3 separate regions of the Homo sapiens genome follow, and all the other regions are linked to region 1. Evidence: promoter capture Hi-C in 16 types of primary human blood cells and fetal thymus (Javierre and others, 2016). All regions are on one chromosome and are shown on one strand. The core of a region is centred on a gene start or on the middle of the fragment in contact, and the rest is flanking DNA. Distances in the headings are between cores, read along the strand shown. Region 1 holds the start of SGO1-AS1 (SGO1 antisense RNA 1). Region 2 overlaps EFHB (EF-hand domain family member B). Region 3 overlaps EFHB (EF-hand domain family member B).

What was found. Contacts are between HindIII fragments. The CHiCAGO score rates a contact against its expected background, and 5 or more counts as called.
Region 2: a fragment that was not itself captured here is called in contact with the fragment with the promoter of SGO1-AS1 in region 1 in 2 of 17 cell types (neutrophils and erythroblasts); the score reaches 6.2 in neutrophils.
Region 3: a contact is called between a fragment that was not itself captured here and the fragment with the promoter of SGO1-AS1 in region 1, in 1 of 17 cell types (fetal thymus). The highest score is 5.4, in fetal thymus.

What each region holds. Positions count from the first base shown.
Region 1 is chr3:20,173,002-20,175,535 of GRCh38, forward strand. It overlaps SGO1-AS1 (SGO1 antisense RNA 1), which reads left to right and starts at 1,285. Exons shown (of 4, transcript NR_132785.1): 1 at 1,285-1,524; 2 at 1,734-1,817. It overlaps SGO1 (shugoshin 1), which reads right to left. Exons shown (of 8, transcript NM_001199251.3): 6 at 1,248-2,054. The HindIII fragment of the contact is 5,926 bases long and covers 1-2,534 here.
Region 2 is chr3:19,875,562-19,880,558 of GRCh38, forward strand. It overlaps EFHB (EF-hand domain family member B), which reads right to left. Exons shown (of 13, transcript NM_144715.4): 13 at 3,911-4,243. The coding sequence ends at 4,070. Among named protein-coding and RNA genes, the nearest start is that of EFHB, 56 kb to the right of the region's middle. The HindIII fragment of the contact is 2,034 bases long and covers 1,117-3,150 here.
Region 3 is chr3:19,893,421-19,898,417 of GRCh38, forward strand. EFHB (EF-hand domain family member B) reads right to left here. Exons shown (of 13, transcript NM_144715.4): 9 at 3,267-3,421. Among named protein-coding and RNA genes, the nearest start is that of EFHB, 38 kb to the right of the region's middle. The HindIII fragment of the contact is 416 bases long and covers 2,235-2,650 here.

The DNA of each region.
Region 1 (2,534 bases), core at 35-2,534:
TTTTCTGGACATTTTTAAATGTACACAAAGATGGCAATAACAGTATAATAAACTCTGAGTTACCCAGGTCCAATAATTATCAACACTTTGACAATCATGTTTGATTTATTCTAACATCATTATAGCATTTTTGCTTTTTTTTTTTTTGAGACTGAGTTTCGCTCTTGTTGCCTAGGCTGGAGCGCAATGGCATGGTCTCGGCTCACTGCAACCTCTGTTTCCTGGGTACAAGCAATTCTTTTTCTCCTGCCTCAGCCTCCCGAGTAGCTGGGATTACCGGCACATACCACCAGGCCTGGCTCATTTTTTTGTATTTTTAGTAGAGATGGGGTTTCACCATGTTGGCCAGGCTGGTCTTGGACTCCTGACCTCAGGTGATCCGCCCACCTCAGCCTCCCAAAGTGCTGGGATTACAGGCGTGAGCCAACCCGCCCGGCTTACAGCATATTTTTAAAAAAGATACTTGCCTGCTACCACTGACTAACTGGCCGATTTAGAAAGTTGGTTTGGTTTTTAAGGTTTTAATCTCCTTACAAACAAAATAAGCATCATAACACCTATACTTCACAGAATTGTTCTGAGGATCAAATAAAATGATGTGACAATATTTTGAAAATGATACAACTTGACTATAAATGTTAGTTTTACTTGTATTAACTAAAATTGCCAAATGAGAATCTTTGTGGACAGGTGTAGGTTGTATTACGAACATTTGAACTATGCCTACTTTTGATCTAATAAAATATTTTCTGAGCCAGTTTTTAGAGATGTCGTACAAAAGAATACTAAGCCTATCAATTGAGGAAATCTTCACTAACTAGAAGATTATTTTAAATCACGGTTCCTGTCAAATTTAATATAAAACAAGGCCATTAAAATAACAAGTCACTGGATTCAAATTTGATTTCACTTTCAAGGGGATACTTCAGTTAAGTGTATAAAAGCTACTTCAATTCAACCTAAGTCTACAAAAAAGTCCCTCTGTCCCCTTGGGAGTCCTAATTTACTGAAAATAAAAATTCTGTCTCCATAACAAGCAATCTCTGAATTAGGTCAGAGCAATACAACTGTGATTTCCACACCCAGCCCCCCACTGTTTAATCAGACCATAACTTCCACCAAAGAGAGACAGATGGTAAGTCTCCAACCTCCACCAGAGAAACAGATGGTAAGTATAGTATATAAGCATCAGGAGTGATCATTTATCACGAACATTAAAAATACAGGTAAACAAGTAGATCACTTACTGGTAGGAGTTTTTGTTGGCTTAGAACCCTCCGTCTCTTTTTCATCTGTGTATTTCAGTGCTCTTTTAGCTAGAGGCCTGGTGACTGGTCTATCTGAATTGCTCGTGGGATTCTGAATGTACTTGCAAGTGGGCAAATAGAGGTCATCGGAATCATCTCCTGAACCACTTGATTCACAGAGGCTCACTTCAGACTCGTTGTTTTCTTCTCTATTAGAGTCATTGCTCACTTTTTGTCGGAAAGGAGTAAGATGAACACCCTCTTCCAAATTAAAATTGTAAGCATCATTGGAACTGACAGATTTGTGCATTTTTTTTTGGGGAACAGTTTTTTTATTTTCGCTTTTATTCTCTTTATATTTTGACATACGTTTTGATTTTCTCCTGTTAGCTTTTCTTTTCTCTTCTCTTTTTCTTTCTTGTGTATCTCTTTGCTTACTTTTAGTTTGTTCAGATTTAGATTCTAAAATGTCTTCTTTTGTTTTAGTAAACGTTCCTGGCTGAATCAGCTTTGGTGATAAGTTAACTTGGTCCTTGCTCCATTGACAAGCATTGTGTTGTACATTTTCAGGTATGTGCATGTTTACTAGTGGGTCTAAAAATCCAACTCTTTCGAATTCAAAAGACTTCCCTGCCAAATGACTGGTTTCAAAATCATCCAAGCTATCAAACTGACATATACTGTTACAATGTTTCTTTAAACTGCTACGAACAGATACAGTTCTAGGTAAGACATTATCAGTAGACTTAGCTTCACCTGAATCAAAATCAACTCCCAGTGTGTCTTGAGGAATAGTAGGTATCTGATCTGAGAATTTAAAAAATAAATGAGAAAAGTAGTTTTACTTTGTGGAAATTTGAATTTCAAGAACTTTAGAATTCAAACTAAAAAAGTGAATGACCAAAAGGTCATTCTGTAGTTTTCCTACATTATAAAATCTGTAAATAAAAACCTGGGAACTTAAATATTACCATCTATTTACTTGTCAGTGATCAACTGATGGCTTATATCTGACATGTGAAAGAATCTTGTACAGGTTCAGTATCCCTAATCTGAAAATCTGAAATCCAAAACTTTTTTAGTGCAGTCATGATGCTCCAAGGAAATGCTAACTGGAGGGTTTTGGATTTCAGATTTTCAAATTAGGGATGATGAACTGATATAATGTAAATACTCCAAAATTTAAAAAATAAATCCAAAACACTTCTGGTCCCAAGCATTTTGGATAAGGGACATTCAATCTTTATAATCTTTAAAAACATTATAGGCCAGGCACGGTGGCTTACG
Region 2 (4,997 bases), core at 884-3,383, 300 kb before region 1:
GGACGCAGCGTAGCGCCTCCTTAGATCCCTTTGGAGATACAACTTGCTAGAGGAAATGAAAGTCTGAACCATTAGTACCTAGGAGGCAGGGATCAGAGGAAGTAGATTCAGAGGTAAGGAGAATTTTGGGGCTACACTTTCAAGAAAGTCCCAGTCAGGACCCAGGAGGCATGGTTCAGAAGGAAAGGTAGGGGCGCACTGCTGAGTAGAGACTTCTGGCTGTGCCATGATCTCAACCGGCTACTGCCGGGAGTTCGGGACAACAGCTTTCTGCCTCTAGTTGGCCCTCGGCTTCCCCAAGAAAATTGAAAGTGGAAGCTGGCTCCGGGCAGACCAACGTCCCCAGTAGAAGGGTTGGGGGTTGTTAGAAAGCCCTTCCACAGATAGCCTCACACCTGAGTCTTAAGTCCGGTGGCCACTCTAATTGTTTTTAACTGGCCGACAAGTGCCCGGTATTTTCCTCCAGTTCTAAGGAAGGATAGAACAGAATAGCAAGCGAAAGTGGTCCAATATTACTCACCACTTTGGATGTCCCTTCGTGGTCACCAAAATGTTACCGGGGTCCTTGCTCACAGAGCTCCCAAGATGGTGGCGAGCTGCTTCCAAGATGGTGGCAAGCCTCGTATTCTCTGACCTGGGGTTCTTGGCCTCACAGATTCCAACGAATGGAATCTTGGGCCATGCGGTGAGTGTTATAGCTCTATTAGAAGCCGTGGGTCACGGAAGAGAACCGTGGAACCCAGTGACTAGTGTTCAGCTCGATTAGGACGAAACCAGGCACTTAGCCATGCAGGAACAATGGCAACCCTTTAGCATGATCGGGAGTGGCAATGGGAGTCTGGCTGGTTCAGGAGCACAGCGGACACCCTGCCAGATTCAGAGGGATGGGAATCAGCAGCAGGATGGGAGTCAGCGGCGGGTCTGCGACAGTGGCAAACAGCAGTGGTAGACGGCGAGCGAAAGCTTAGCTGGAGCCGTAACAAACATGGACCAGAAGAGTGCAGTTGCAAGATTTAATAAAGTAAAATAGAGTGAAAACAGAGCTCCCATACAAAGGGAGGGGACCCAAAGGGGGTTGCCCCCATGTATCCATATCTTCTAGACAACAAGAGGTGAAGCTTTTAAATGATGTCAGTTCAGCTACCCTAATTTTTATTAAAAGGCTCAAACTTTTAAACAGGGTTTGCCCAGATAAGCAGCACTAGGTCCCTTGCCCCAAAGCCATCCTGCATTCAGGGCAGGGAGCAAACCCCTCAATCAGCTAAACTTAAATTCATGTGGCTCAAGGATCACTTCCATCACCTGTGCCACTTTGATTCTAGCTGGTTTAACTCATAGAAGAAACTTCAACAGGAGGTATGTTTCTGAATCCTAGGCAATTCCGAAACAAGAAGCAATGGAAGCAATTCCTAGGCACAGAATTGAAGGGGTGCACTTGAAAAGAATATTGACAATAGACTGCTAAATAGCACCTGCACTCTATTCAGTCCCTAGCACCTCAAAGAATAATGAAAAGTATAGAATAGGCTGAGTAGGGAAGACAGATACTTCATAATAAAAAGTAATGACCAGCCAGGCACAGTGGTTCACACCTGTAATCCCACCACTTTGGGAGGCCAAAGCGATGGATCACCTGAGGTCAGGAGTTCAAGACCAACCTGGCCAATATGGTGAAACCCCATATCTACGAAAAATACAAAAAATTAGCCTGCCATGGTGGCACACACCTGTAATCCCAGCTACTTGGGAGGCTGAAGCACAAGAATCGCTTGAACCTGGGAGGCAGAGGTTCCAGTGAGCTGAGATCGTGCCTCTGCACTCCAGCCAGGGTGACAGAGACTCCATCTCAAAAAAAAAAGGAAAGACTGGGCTTCCGTCCAAAATTTCTAAATTGCATGAAGGAAATAATGTTTCAAATGTCGTGCTCCAATAAGAGAAGACAGTATACATAAAGTAGATTTTTAGGCCAGATATAGTAAATGCATAGTATCAAAATTAACTTCATTTCTTCCAAATTAGTTTAAGTCCATAGGTCATAAATTCTAGCTAATGTACACATATGAGCACCCTGGTAAGTTTCAAATCAAGGTTTTCTCCATTTCTCTCCTTCACTCAGATATCACATAATTTCTTCTATGGCTTCGGTGACATACAGATACTGGGTTGTAGAAACACAATTTTCACTGAGAAAATTGCTCTGAGATAACTGCTCTCAGAGCTAAGAATTGGCTTATTTCCTAAATTTGGTGGGAGCTATGAAATCTTGTATGCCTTGTTACATCTTTGACTTCCTAAAATTGAAGCTCAGCCCGCTGAGTCACTTCAGTTAAGTGACTATGAGTTTAAGAGCCAGGATGGACCTATGGTCTTCCCAGTGAGAAGCAGCTCAAGACGCAGCTGCTTAAAGGAAACACACCTCTCCCCAGGTCTTCCAAACACCTTGGCTGAAACTAGGCAGAAGCAGAAAAAAGGGAGAGAGAATTTCCTTGGATTTTTAACTCACTGGACACTAGATAATTTGATTTCAGTCTTGAATTACTTTGAATTTTATCTTCAGATTTTAACTGGCAAGGAAATTTAACATTTGGGTATTATTTATTCCTGTGAATTTGACACTAGAAAGTTTATTCAAATTTTATCATCTTCATGTTTATCATCTTTATGTTGGCATTTTATTACCAGAGTATCTCAATGCTATTATTTATTCTCATTGTAGAATTCTCATTGTAGAATCCCTTATACGCTATGTTGGACCACATGACTGGGCATAAGTTGGAATGAGAAATAGAATAAAATGATAACTTTTTTATTTGTCAATGGAGTTTCCTTGACATTGAAAACGTACAGTTCTGACCCATTTTATAGGCTACCAGGGACAAAATATAAAGAACCCACCAGTGGTAGGAGGAGGATACACAAAGGAACCTCAATTGGTACTTTTAGAGTAGATTTAGGAAAGTGAATCAGGACCATCCTGAAAGATGGCTTATCTCCTCCCTTAAGGGCAACGGCCCCATGCCTGCTTGACCATAGTTTGATGACTTAAGCCAAACGTGTTAAGAAAGCATGAGTTTAGAGATCATTTGGAAAAGATTGCTTATTCCCCAAACCTTATAATGTTTTCTTTTGTCTTGTTTTTGCTGTCTTAAAAGCTTTCAATTTGTGGTTTTTAATATATGGAAAGAGCTCCTCTAGCTGTATTCTTCATTTGTTCTTTTAAAGAATTAATTTTTAAAAGACAAGTAATTTTTTAATAGAAAAGGAAATGTAAGGAAGTCAAGATCGCTTTTTTTTTTTCTTAAAATTTTTCACCTGTAGCGGGCGCGGTGGCTCACACCTGTAATCCCAGCACTTTGGGAGGCTGAGGCAGGCAGATCACAAGGTCAGTAGATCGAGACCAGCCTGGCTAATATGGTGAAACTCCGTCTCTACGAAAAATTAGCCTGACATGGTGGCACGCGCCTGTAGTCCCAGCTACTCAGGAGGCTGAGGCAGGAGAATCGCTTCAACCCAGGAGGCAGAGGTTGCAGTGAGCCAACACTGCGCCACTGCACTCCAGTCTGGGTGACAGAGTGAGACTCCATCTCAAAAAAAAAAAAAATTCACCTGTAGTTCCATGCACAAGATCTAGCTTTTAGTCCACTACATAAACATGAATCTCCTTACTCTTGGTGTGTTACTACATTTTGATCACCTGTGACAGAAATTGCAGTTCAAATTGGCTTAACCAACAAAGAAAATTAAACTTGGCATCACAAATCACACTATGAATTCAGACGGCCAACTAAAATATATGGAATTCTTAGGCCTACAAAACTTCTAATATCATTCTGAACTGTCTTTGCTGAGGCTGAATGTTAACTCTTCAATCACTTGTCAAGCTCTTAGGTGCTTTATGGAAAACAATAAATTTTAAAATCCAAAATCTAATTTATTAGCAACACATACAGGCATATGAGTCTTACCACTGTGAACTCTAACATAATATCTAAAACCAGAATGGATTCAACATTTTAGATAAACACAGAGTTAATAATTCTTTTGCTTGAATGAATGAAGTCCAAAAATATCACATGAGTGTTTTACACTTGATCCGGTCTGCATGCCGTAGCTCATCTAGAACATTTCTGATGTTCTCAACACAAACTTCTCCTCTGTGATGCTTTTTTGATGCAAGATTCCATACATTTTCAAATTCTTCATCAGACAGTTTGACACCAATGTTACACAATATCTCTGCAATCTAGAAAAAGGCATTTAAAATAGACCATGATTTATATGTTTTAAAACTTGTAATGAAAAATATCTTTATAACATCTAAGACTATGGATATTTTTCCAAAAAAGTATGTGTGAAAAGTATGTGTGTGTATGTATTTGTGTGTGTGCATGTGCTTGTATATATACATAATGAGAAAATATCAAAATTCTAATACTGTCAGCTCAGGAATAATTTTGTTATTATAATATGAGGGTGTTCAAATACACTAGCCAATATATAAAGTTATTTTCAACTTTAAATGTCTCATTATTTTAAGGAGAGGTAGCAAAATTTAAGTAAAAAGAGTGAAAAAAATAAAGAAGACTTGCTAGGTTTGAGTTCCATTTCAGTCATTTATTGTCATTTTGGTCTTGTGTATGTCACCTAAGCCACTTGAACATTAGTTTCATTTATTTATTTATTTATTTATTTATTTATTTATTTTTGAGACAGAGTCTCACTCTGTTGCCCAGGCTGGAGTGCAGTGGTGTGATCTTGGCTCACTGCAGCCTCTGCCTCCTGGGTACAAGCGATTCTTCTGCCTCAGCCTCCTGAGTAGCTGGGATTACAGGTGTGTGCCACCACACCTGGCCAATTTTTTTGTATTTGTAGTAGAGATGAAGTTTCACCATGCTGGCCAGGCTGGTCTTGAACTCCTGACCTCAAATGATCCACCCATCTCGGCCTCCCAAAGTGCTGGGATTACAGGCATGAGCCTCTAGGCATGGCCAAGTTTT
Region 3 (4,997 bases), core at 1,193-3,692, 280 kb before region 1:
AATGGGATACCCTGATTTTGTGGCAATAGGGGGAGCGCAGCAACCGAGCTCTTGGAGAGAGAACACTTTAGACCCAGGATGTTCAGGGGAGTGACAGACATCATGATATTTTGTTTTTCAGCCCACTCCTGAAGACTGCATCATAAAGAAAAATGCCTTAGTGCAGTTCTCTCAAACTGTTGGTGACACCTTAGTTTTAACTGACTGCCAGGCAGTTCTGACCACAATTTGAATGACATCCACCTCAACTTTACCAAGAAATCTATTGGAAACAGCAGAGAATGACCCTAGTTACTGCACCTCCACATTGAACACCTTTGGGTATCTTCCCCAGCCCCATTTGCAGTCATTCCACAAGGTGAGCAAATACCATCAGCTGGTGGCATGGACAGACAGGAGGTTGGACTTACTGACCTTATGCAGCCCCTCCAAAAACAAGGACTATACACAATTATTGAACCTAACTGAGAATCCTATAGCCTAGCAGCAAAATTTATTTTAGGAAACTATTCTAGTTTTAAGTTAACAATGTTTACATATTGACAACAAATGTGCTGTTTAAGTGAGCACAAATCTATACATCCTTAATTAGACAATTAATTAAAAGAGAAAATCATCAGCTGACTTGCATTGCTAAGAACATCTGTCATGAATTACATAGTCTATGATAGCTAGGAGCAAAAATCCCTGATTGCAACTCTGAGTTTATCATAGTACTTGGGCCTCACTCTACTTCAGTGTTGTGTTACATATGTTCAACAACTGACTTTTTGGCAGTGTGGTGGAAAAAAGCCCTGATTTGTAGCAGGTGCTGCTTTCCATGGTGTTCATACTCTCATCATGGTAATTTCTAGCTACCATTGTGATGTCAACTGGCTTGTAAGCTTGCTGCAAATTTAACAGTATGCTCTCTCAAGCCAACTCTAGCACACTACTGCTACCCAATGTGTAACTCTCCCTCTAGATTTTCCATTCCCTAAATGGAATGTCTACACATTATCTGGAATAATGCTTGATGTATTATGATTACTCAATAAATAGCAGAATTAATTTCATAAGCCAAGAAGATTCATTTAGAAAATCATAGTTTATTTGCTCTGTTGTGTTTGTGTTTTGTTTTTCCATTAAATTAAATGTGGCATCCAATAATATAAGATTTAAATAATCAAAAATTAACCTACAGCTGTACTAGACCCACATCTTATTACCCTCTCAGAAAAAAAGCTCCTTACGGTGACTGAATGCTACATTGTGCATATTGAGTTAACTATTAAAAGGTATATCAAGGCCAGGCGCGGTGGTTCATACCTGTAATCCCAACACTGGGAGGCCGAGGCAGGTGGATGACCTGAGGTCAGGAGTTCAAGACCAGCCTGGCCAACATGGTGAAACCCCGTCTCTACTAAAAATACGAAAATTAGGGTGTGGTGGCAGGTGCCTGTAATCCCAGCTACTTGGGAGGCTGAGGCAGGAGAATCGCTTGAACCTAGGAGGCGGAGGTTGCAGTGAGCCAAGATCACGCCATTGCACTCCAGCCTGGGGGACAAGAGCAAGACTTTGTCTCAAAAAATATATATATGTATATATAAAAATATATAGTTTTTATATATAAATGTTTATATCTATATATTATAAATAATATATAAATATATACATAATTTATATTTATATATCAACATATATTTATATATAAGCATATATGTATATGTAAGGCATATCAGCATTAAATAATTCTCAGTAATTTCCTCCCTGCTTAATTTATCATAAGGAATATGCTTGGGCCAGGCGCGGTGGCTCAAGCCCGTAATCCCAGCACTTTGGGAGGCCGAGGCGGGTGGGTCACGAGGTCAGGAGATCGAGACCATCCTGGCTAACACGGTGAAACCCCGTCTGTACTAAAAGTACAAAAAAATTAGTCGGGCCTGGTGGCGGGCACCTGTAGTCCCACTACTCGGGAGGCTGAGGCAGGAGAATGGCGTGAACCCGGGAGGCGGAGCTTGCAGTGAGCCGAGATGGCGCCACTGCACTCCAGCCTGGGCGACAGAGCGAGACTCGGTCTCAAAAAAAAAAAAAAGGAATATGCCTGGTGGTTTACTTAGATAATCAACAGCTATTAAGATGATCATCTTTCCTTTAATTACATTTAAAATGAAGAATTCTTAAAAGCAGGGCACTACGTATTATGGCAGGTTCTCTTATTCATGTCACTACCATTATTTATTGAGTTGGCTCCAAGCTTCCTGGTAACCAAAGTAAAAAGGTGTGCATAATCAATACAAAATACATGCTATCCATGAGATAAAAACCAGTCATCAGATACTTAGATGAAGTGCAATTATTTCCTTTGTCAAGACTGAGTTTCTTATAAGGAAGATGCATCTGACAAAAATAAAAGCCTCATGGGCATACTAACAAAAAATATGCCACGTTTCAATGGCAGTTTCTTATAGTGCTCCTCAGCATAAGCTAAAGGCAGTGCAGCTCGGTAAAAGCAATTCTGTGATGGCCTAAAATGAAGCAAGGCAATTATGTAGCCCTAGATTGATCTGATTTTATTCAAAGAATAAAATTTAGAGTAGCTTGAACATTGAATGATCTTACACTCTCAAAACTAAAACCACACCCTGCTCCCCAGGGAAAAGACATTCTAAGCTTGACTTGGACCTAGAATGCAGGTACTCTGTGTACATATTCAGATTTAGGTGTAGATTGTCAAGTCTTCCCCAGGGATCCCCAGTGCTACCCATTGCCCCTTGCTCCCAGCACACTGCAGTTTAATAATCCATAACAGTGGTTCTCAAACTTGAATGTGCATCAGAATCACTAGAGCACTTGCAAAAATTGCTGGGTCCCACCCCAGAGTTCCTGACTCAGTATTTTCTGAAATGGGCCTTGTAATGTGCATTTCTAACAAGTTCCCAAGTGATAGTGATGGTGGTAGTGGAACCACACTTTGACAACCAATAATCTACAAAAGGGGTCAGCAAATGTCTTCTGTTAAGGGGCAAATAGTAAATATTTTAGGTTTTGAAGGCCATACAGTTTTTGTTGCTACTACCTAACTCTGTATTCATACTGCAAAAGCAGCCACAGACAATACTGAAAACAACACAGGCGTGATTGTGTTCCAGTAAAACTTTACTGACACAAACAAACAGTGGGCTGGATTTGGCCCACAGGCTATAGTTTGCTGACCCCTGATCTACACCAAACTGCTGGGATCTGTAAGCCCATGCATTACCAAAAAGCTCTCCCCCATTACTGGCCTTGTCATAGTGCCTGAAGGCTGCCAGCAAAGTGTCAAACTTTTGGTAATTAACTTTCTTCAGGTGATGCCGAACTGCTGCAATCAGGGCTCGCTGTCTATCCTTGCCTCGAAGATATTCATCCGGAAGTCTATTATGGATGAGATCACCAACTCCTATTGAAGAGAGAAAAAACTTTTTACATAAATTTAAAGTCTTTCTATATTATTTCTATCTTTTAAAAAAAGTGAGAGATCTAGCAACCTCTGTGAATGAAAGAAACATCTAACTCTGACATGATTATGCAGCATGTCAGAAAATCCTTATGTACTCTAAAGTACATAAATTAATTGATAAAAATTAATATTCCTGGTTTATGTTACCTCTCTGCTCAAGAAGAAAATCTAAAAGAATGAATTTTGTGTGGACATCACCAACCGCACTCAACTGTCAAGTCTTTTCCCTGGACAGTGAAGTTCTTGCTTGACTACCTCTTGGCCATTTGTCTACAGTGCTGAGGATCTGAAAGCTAGGGCTGATTCCAGGTGGGGACCACTCAGTGTGCCTTGGAACTGACTAAACTGGGAGAGCCTTGTAAAAATTAAATTATCTACCCTCTCCTATGTGAGTTTCCAGTTGGCCGTCAGTCTGCATACCAACTTCCCATTTCTCAGCCTTGCTTCCACTCATGCCACCACCAGCACTAGAGGCCTGCCTCCCTTCACGGCTCCATTAACTAAGAGTCCTGACCCACACCCCAACTAGAGTTGACCATGCTGCTCCAGATGTGGCGGCTCGGTGGATATCGCCAGAGGAGACCTCCTGCCTCTCTTCATTTTCCCTGGCGTACACACATCTCCCATCTTTCTGCCAGGACTCTCAGCTTTCTCTTCCTTTTTTAATTCATCAATTCATGCTATAAATATTGATGAAAGATGTCCTATGTGCTGGACCCTGAGGATCCAACAGACAGCAAGACAGAGCACCCACCAGCATGAAGCTTGCCCTCAAACAGGCAGAATTTACCATGATTACCTACTTCTTTTTCAAGCTAATTGATGGTTTCCTAATCATCCCTTACCCTCTTCAAAAGATATTAAAGCCTCTAAGATGGATAGGCATCCATCAAACATTAGTAGTTTGTGTAAAAACAGAACCCAAATACAATTTCCTAATGTAGTAATTAATGATGCTCCAAACCACTGTCTTGCATAAGCTCAATAAATATTTATTCTACCTGTCAATGAGTTGACTTTAGCCAAAACATTTTTCATAGTGGTTCTTAAACGTTAGTGTATATAAGAACCTACTGAATCAGAATATCTAGGGCATGGGTCCCAGGAAGGTGCAGATTTAATAAACTCCCTGGATGATTTTAATGCAGGTAGTCTGCAGCCCATGTTTTGAAAACCACTGATATACAGCCCAATCCTGATAAGCTGTAGCATATTTTTCCCTTTGGATATCTGCTGTTTAGATTGGCTAGAAATAAAGACAAAATCCAAGTAAGTTTCTTCTGCTACTTTATGTATTGATTGATTGATCAACTTACTGGCTAGCTGGCTGGCTGGTAGGAAAAGAGTGGTTCTTAATTATGTGGTTGTAGAGTACAGTGCTTTCTCATATTTGAATGTGCTTAAAATTCACCTGGAAATATAGTTAAAATGCAGTTTCTGATTCAATAGTTCTGGGATGGGGCCTGAGATTCTGCATTTCTAAGGAGCTCCCAGGGGATGCCAATACTGGCAGTCT